Regions from separate parts of the Homo sapiens genome. Here region 1 is linked to region 2. The links are contacts of gene promoters, found by promoter capture Hi-C in blood cells and fetal thymus (Javierre and others, 2016). All regions are on one chromosome and are shown on one strand. Each heading gives the region's core, a stretch centred on a gene start or on the middle of the fragment in contact. The rest is flanking DNA. Distances are from core to core; before and after follow the strand shown. Region 1 overlaps YBX3 (Y-box binding protein 3). Region 2 holds the start of TMEM52B (transmembrane protein 52B).

The links. The method cuts DNA at HindIII sites, captures the fragments that hold promoters and counts their contacts. A CHiCAGO score of 5 or more calls a contact.
Region 1: a fragment that was not itself captured here is called in contact with the fragment with the promoter of TMEM52B in region 2 in 1 of 17 cell types (naive CD8 T cells); the score reaches 5.4 in naive CD8 T cells.

The regions. Positions count from the first base shown.
Region 1 is chr12:10,696,652-10,699,986 of GRCh38, reverse strand. YBX3 (Y-box binding protein 3) reads left to right here. Exons shown (of 10, transcript NM_003651.5): 10 at 333-898. Among named protein-coding and RNA genes, the nearest start is that of STYK1, 24 kb to the right of the region's middle. The HindIII fragment of the contact is 1,797 bases long and covers 1,047-2,843 here.
Region 2 is chr12:10,177,680-10,180,934 of GRCh38, reverse strand. It overlaps TMEM52B (transmembrane protein 52B), which reads right to left and starts at 1,903. Exons shown (of 5, transcript NM_001384896.1): 1 at 1,307-1,903. The coding sequence starts at 1,360. RefSeq lists an enhancer at 346-1,545. The HindIII fragment of the contact is 29,503 bases long and covers 1-3,255 here.

The DNA of each region.
Region 1 (3,335 bases), core at 696-3,195, 520 kb before region 2:
TTGTGATATATTCATATTAGGAGATAGGGTGCAGCCACTAAAATGATTTTGAGTATTGTTCATTAGTAATGGTAATTTTCTTTTATACAATTTTATAAAATTTTTGCTCTTATGTACTGACTTTTCTGGTTTATAAAAATACTTTATTAAAAAGTGAGAGTTTCCATTTAATTAACATATAGCTTACAGATCTATACAAGATGTGATTGTATTTAGAGCATTTGAAGTACTCTTTTTCTAATTATATGAAAAGCATATAATTTCTGCCTTTTTATTCTTTAACTCATGGTTACTTTGTCACTCTTTATAAGTTTGATTTTAATTTTTCCCAGGTGACCTAAAGAATTAATGACCATTCAGAAATAAAGCAAAAAGCAGGCCACAACCTTAACCAACACCAAAGAAACATCCAAGCAATAAAGTGGAAGACTAACCAAGATTTGGACATTGGAATGTTTACTGTTATTCTTTAAGAAACAACTACAAAAAGAAAATGTCAACAAATTTTTCCAGCAAGCTGAGAACCTGGGAATTCCTGCACGGAAGACAAGAGAGTAGCCTCTCCAGTTTCAGCAACCGCTAGGTTTCTATTTTTTTTCCTGGTTTTTACTGTTTTGGTAATATATATATTGAAACAAGAAATATTAATACCACATGGGGAGAACCCCAACCAAAGAAATCTGAAATATATAGTAAATGCTTTTTTTTCCGTTTTTGTTCATTTTGGATGCTGGTGCTAAACCTCCAAGTGTCATGATTTAAAAAAAAAAAAAATTTATGTCCTTCTTATTTATTTCTAGGATGAGGGGAGGATAACATTTTTGCTTTCTTATGTGACTCTCTTTGAAAATGTGCAGTAAGAAATTCCTCAAAAATAAAATTTTTACCCTTCAGAGGACAGAATGTTTAATGGGAGTGTATTTTTGCCGACCTTAGCGTGTGTTTGTCTTCTCCACCACTTGATTTACTTGACTTGATTAATAGTAAATTCAAAGCCAAATGTAAAGTTAAGTTAATGCTGTTTCACAAATTTAGGCATATAAGCTTGAGATGATAAAAAATTGGATTCCTGTTGAAATGTACAGCTGGAAATTGACAAGTTCATGTCTGAGTTCAGTAGTAGGCATGAATTATTTGGTACTGTCTCTTTTTGAGTAATCTTCATTCAGTGAGGTGACGTGATGACCTTTAGATTAACGAAGGAGTTAATAGTTCTAACATCCTTCAACTTCCAGCCTGAGGTTTTTACCAGTAACTGCTGTGTTGTAGGTATACAAGGGAGCTCTTTACAACTACATTTCTCCCCCTCCCAGCCATGGTGCCCCTAAGTTGAGAAAAACTATCGCAGCTGTCAGTGCCGTATAGTTACTTTTCAGAACTGCTGCAGCAGTACATATCCAGTGTAGGTTTGTGCTAAACATTATTCTAGTGGCTAGGATGGAACAAACCAACAAAATACCATTGTTTCAATGACCAGGTACATACAGAAAATAAACAAGTATGGAATTTAATTTAGATGGCAATAAGTGCTGTTAAGAAACATAAAACATGGTAGGAGGACAGGGACTGGCATAATCATAGGGGATATGTTGATTTTAAATAGTGGGGAGGGTCTCCTATTTAAATGGAGTCCTAAGGTGAAGGGGCATTAAACATTTGAGTATCTGCAGGGAAGAGCATTGCAGGTGGAGGGAGCATTCTTGGCCTAATAAATGGCAAGCAGGTGAATGTGAACTGTTCAAGAACCTTGTATTATCTTGCAAGTTAAAAGGGTTGGTAAAAATTGGTAATAGGCCAAGGCAAAAAAAAAATCAACTATTTTATTCTATTAAAAAAGGCTCCCATCTTGGTTCCAGTTTCCTCCAGGCAACCAGTTAGCATATCTTAAAAATAGACCCATTTCACATATTTCATGTGTGTGAGTCTCTGTGTGTGTGTGTGTGTGTGTGTGTATGTGTGTGTGTGATTGGCCGACTAATGCAAATTTGAGAAGAGGAAATGAGCTTAAATTGTGCTTATGTTAACAACTTAAAAACAATCATTAGACATATCCATGTTTAAAATTCTATGGATAGTTCAACTATACTATTTAGCCAGTCTTCTTTTTCCTAACTTCCCCTTCTCTCTTCCTGCTCACTTTAAAGCTATTCTAGTATAGAATATTTCAAACATACTTTTTAAAATGTTTTTAAAATGTACGTATACTTTTTGGCACTGATTTTCTTTTTCACCTAATATTTTTCCTATAGAGTCCTCTCATCATTTGTACTGACTATATAACATTCCATTACATAGCTATCCATAATTGTACTAGCCTTCTATCATGGGATATTGAGGGTATCTTAATTGCCATTGCAAACATTTTGCTTGATATAATCCCAACATCCTTACTTCTAAATACTGTCATCTGTTTCAGGATGGTAGCTATTCTATTTCTGGGAAAAAATAAAATAAAATGGAATGATGAATGCAGAGTTGGGGAAAACACACTGGTTGTAGGTACAGAAATAACACAAATTGGATGTGATGTGAGGATGGGCCAAAAGTATGTTATTTTACTGGTGAGGGACCTTGGATTGCTTTATCAAGAAATACAGGCTACCGGGGTGAGACCACAGCCAGAAATTAACTAGAAGGCTATCTGTCATACGGCAATCACAACTTAACTCTGTGGTTGTTCATATTTGATGGCACTGCACCTATCAGAAAATAGCACTATGCAAATCAGTATTTGCCTCCTACTATGTGTCAAGAGTGATGGGTGCTTTCAGATCACAAGTAAGTCAGCTGTAACTGTTATAAGGGCTCTTGTGTTTATTGCAAAGATGCAAGTTTTGAAAGCTTTTTGCTCTTAGTGGAGTGGATAAATGTGTTTATAAAGACATGTTTTGAGATTTTAAAGAAAAAATTTAGAGCTAAATTAGATTGAAGCTAGTTTCAGTTAAAAAATGGAAAAGAATCTCAAGATTGATTTTGTATATTATGGCATAAGCATTTTGTTTAATAAGAAAAAGTCTAGAAAGGATACAGGTGCTGATATAAATCTCTGGAAATGTGATCTTGTGCAGTAGCAGAAATAAGAATTCATCAGCTTTGTGATTTTCCCAAAATGCTTTGTGAAAGCATTTCATTTTAACTGATGAGCTAGCTCCAGAATCACCCAGGCTTTCAGAATGGGGATGGTAAGCTCTAATGAATGATCCACACTGGTCAAATAACACGGGGAGCTTAGTTTGCAGATCCCTCCCTATGCCTCTAGTTTGGACAGTATTCTAGTAAAAGGGGTATAGAATAGAGGCATCTGATAAAAGAGACTAGAAATCACCACTTTGTTA
Region 2 (3,255 bases), core at 654-3,153:
ACTTGGGAGGCTGAGGCAAGAGAATCGCTTGAACCCAGGAGGCGGAGGTTGCAGTCAGCCAAGATCGTGCCACTGCACTCCAGCCTGGGTAACAAGGGCAAAACTCCGTTTAAAAACAACAACAACAACAACAACAAACCATTTAAGTAAACTCAATTCTAGAAGTTGCTTCTGTCTTCTAATAACCTGAGTGATCTGATATTTCAGGAAAGCAACCACAAAGGCCCTAGAAAAGAAACAGATTTGTAACTATTGGGAGTTTATGGCGGGTAGTGAAGGGGTAAGGAGACACACATTCTCAAGACCTATCAGTTGGAAAGGATCTGTAAAAGGATTAATGGCCAGCCTTTGCAGGTAACATTTGAGAAACCCGTGTTTGTGTTTTCATTGGAAAGAAATGGCCACTAACGATGAAAAAGCGTGTGTTTCCTCTACGCAACCATGGTACTTTCTTTCACTTTCTTCACTAAAGGTAAGAGAAGCCTAAAGTGCTCAGCAGAGAAAATGCTACTTTTCAGGCTTGTTGCAAAGAGAAAAGAAAGGAAAAATGAAGGGAAGACAAGGCAAAGGGAGTGAAGAGGAAGCAAAAAGAAAATATAAGAAAAAATGGATTTTCAGATACCACTTTAACTGTTCTATTAGCAAAAAAAAAAAAAAAACAAACCATACAGCCCACTCTGTACGGGGGCCATACGGGAATCTGAGACTATCCAGTTTTCTTCATTTGCTCTCCTTCTTGCTAGATGGCATAGCTCTATAAACTTCCCTGTGACAATTGTTTAGAATCCCTCAGTCCAGTGACCCTTTTCTCCACTAATGGATTACTCAGAGACTTCTGATTCATTGTGGGGCCCAAAATATTTTAAAAGAGCCCTGCCTCTCTTATTTCTAGACTAGAGGCACCTAAACTGCTAGAACAGGATTAGAAATTCCTGGATGGGAAATTCCGTTTAGGGGAATTACACACCTAGTTTTCATAATTTGTTTGGAATTTTGAGGGATGGGTGATAAGATGCTAAAAGAGATAAAATACTTCAGCGGCACTTCTAAAGTGCCACGGCAATCCTGCTCGTTTCCATGCTCACTCTAATTTCTGTCCCCCTTTTCATTGTCATTGCCATCAGTCACACATGCATCTATGCAATCTCGTAATACTAAGGAAACTTTGTAGTTTATTCATTTCCCTATGACCCCCTGGGTTCTGTATATGTCTCCCCACCCCGCAGTTCATTTCCTTTCAGACTCTTCTGAGAGTTGATTAATCTGGGGAAAAATACTCTTTCTGCCTTTTCACCACTGAACTCACCAGGATGAAATACAGCAGGGCTGAGGCCGCCACGACATGAACTCGGACTCCCATCGGGCTGAATTCCTGCTTCTTCAGAATCTTGCACTGGGCATCCGTTGCCTCCTTTCAATGCTCTGTGCCATATTTTACTTCTTGACCTAGAATTCTTAAGAAGAGAAACTTTTCTCAGGAATTTATCAGCTTTTCTCTCTCTCGTTCTCTCTGTCTCCTCCTACTCGCTCTGGCTGTTATTTTCTATGGCTTTTCCCTCTTCTTTCCTGTTTTTCTTCTTTATTCTTATTACTATTTCTATGGCCTCCACATTTACTTCCTTTTGCCTTCTTTCTTTCCGTTACACTATTAATTCTTTCTACATCTTGAAGTTTCTTTCTCCTACTGCTCCCAAAAAGGAGACATTCAAAGAGGACATATGTGTCCTCTGAATGAAGTATTTTTCTAGACAGCGATGAAAAACTTGGCTTTGAGGATGGTCAAAGGCAGATTGCTGGTGACCAAATATATTCCTTTCTTCATCAGAAAACTGGTAATATTCTTGATCCTTCACCAGAGTACTCCAGCGTGACTGTTGCAGGGTGAAAGTCACCCTGCTAATCTCCTTTCTTCTCTCTCCGTGTGACTAACAACCCCTTCTTGCTCTTTGAAACCCTCCCCTTCACTATGTTGATAATCAACTCTCCTGGTTCTGGGTCATTTATATCCCTAAGCATTGGGGTAAGACTGAGAGGTTGCCAAGTGAACAGGAAAGCCATCTCATCTTTGGAGAAAACAGACTTGAAGATGAGAAATCAAGTCGGAAGATTAGAATTTTCAGGTGTTATCAGTGACATCTTCCTCCTCCCTGACTTCACTTCCCATTGAAATAGATAACTGAGAAAGACATTTTTTTAAAACCAAATTTTAAAAAAGCAAATGTATAGGTTTCTTTCTTTCTTGCCTTTTCTTTGTTCCTTCTTTCTCTCTCTTTCTCTCTCTCTCTCTCTCTTTGGTTAAGGAGTGATGTGATTGAGAAATAAGTCTTGTCACTCAGGAAAATAAAACCTAAGGTTAGAGTAAAAACAAGCACACATGCAAAAGCATAGAATACTTTTTTTTTTTTTTTTTTTGAGACGGAGTCTTGCTCTGTCACCCAGGCTGGAGTGCAGTGGCGCAATCTCGGCTCACTGCAAACTCTGCCTCCTGGGTTCATGCCATTCTCCTGCCTCAGCCTCCCGAGTAGCTGGGAATACTGGCGCCCACCACCACGCCCGGCTAAGTTTTTTTGTATTTTTAGTAGAGACGAGACGGGGTTTCACCATGTTAACCAGAATGGTCTCGATCTCCTGACCTCATGATCCGCCCGACTCGGCCTCCCAAAGTGCTGGGATTACAGGCGTGAGCCACCGTGCCTGGCCTAGAATACTTACAATGAAACAAAGCTATAGACACAAATGTGGCCGGGTGCCATGGCTCATGCCTGTAATCCCAGCACTTTGGGAGGCCAAGGCGGGCTGATAACTTCGGCCAGGAGTTTGAGACCAGCCTGGAGAACATGATGAAACCCTTTCTCTACGAAACATACAAAAATTAGCTGTGTGTCATGGCAGGCACCTGTAATCCCAACTACTTGGGAGGCTGAAGCAGGAGGGCCACTTGAACCCGGAAGGCAGAAGTTGCAGTGAGCCGAGATCACACCACTGCACTCCAGCCTGGGTGATAGAGCGAGAATCTGCCTCAAAAAAGCAAAATATTAAAAGAAACAAAAGAATGCTGTATGAATGATTTATACTTAAGTAGGTGATCTTTTACTTAATACCAAATGTTTAATAAAAAAATTATTATTATTATTATTATTATTATTATTATTATTATTATTATTATTTGAGACAGAGTCTCTCTGTCACCAGGCTGGAGGGCAGTGGTGCAATCTCGGCTCACTGCAACCTCTGCCTCCTGGGTTCAAGCAATTC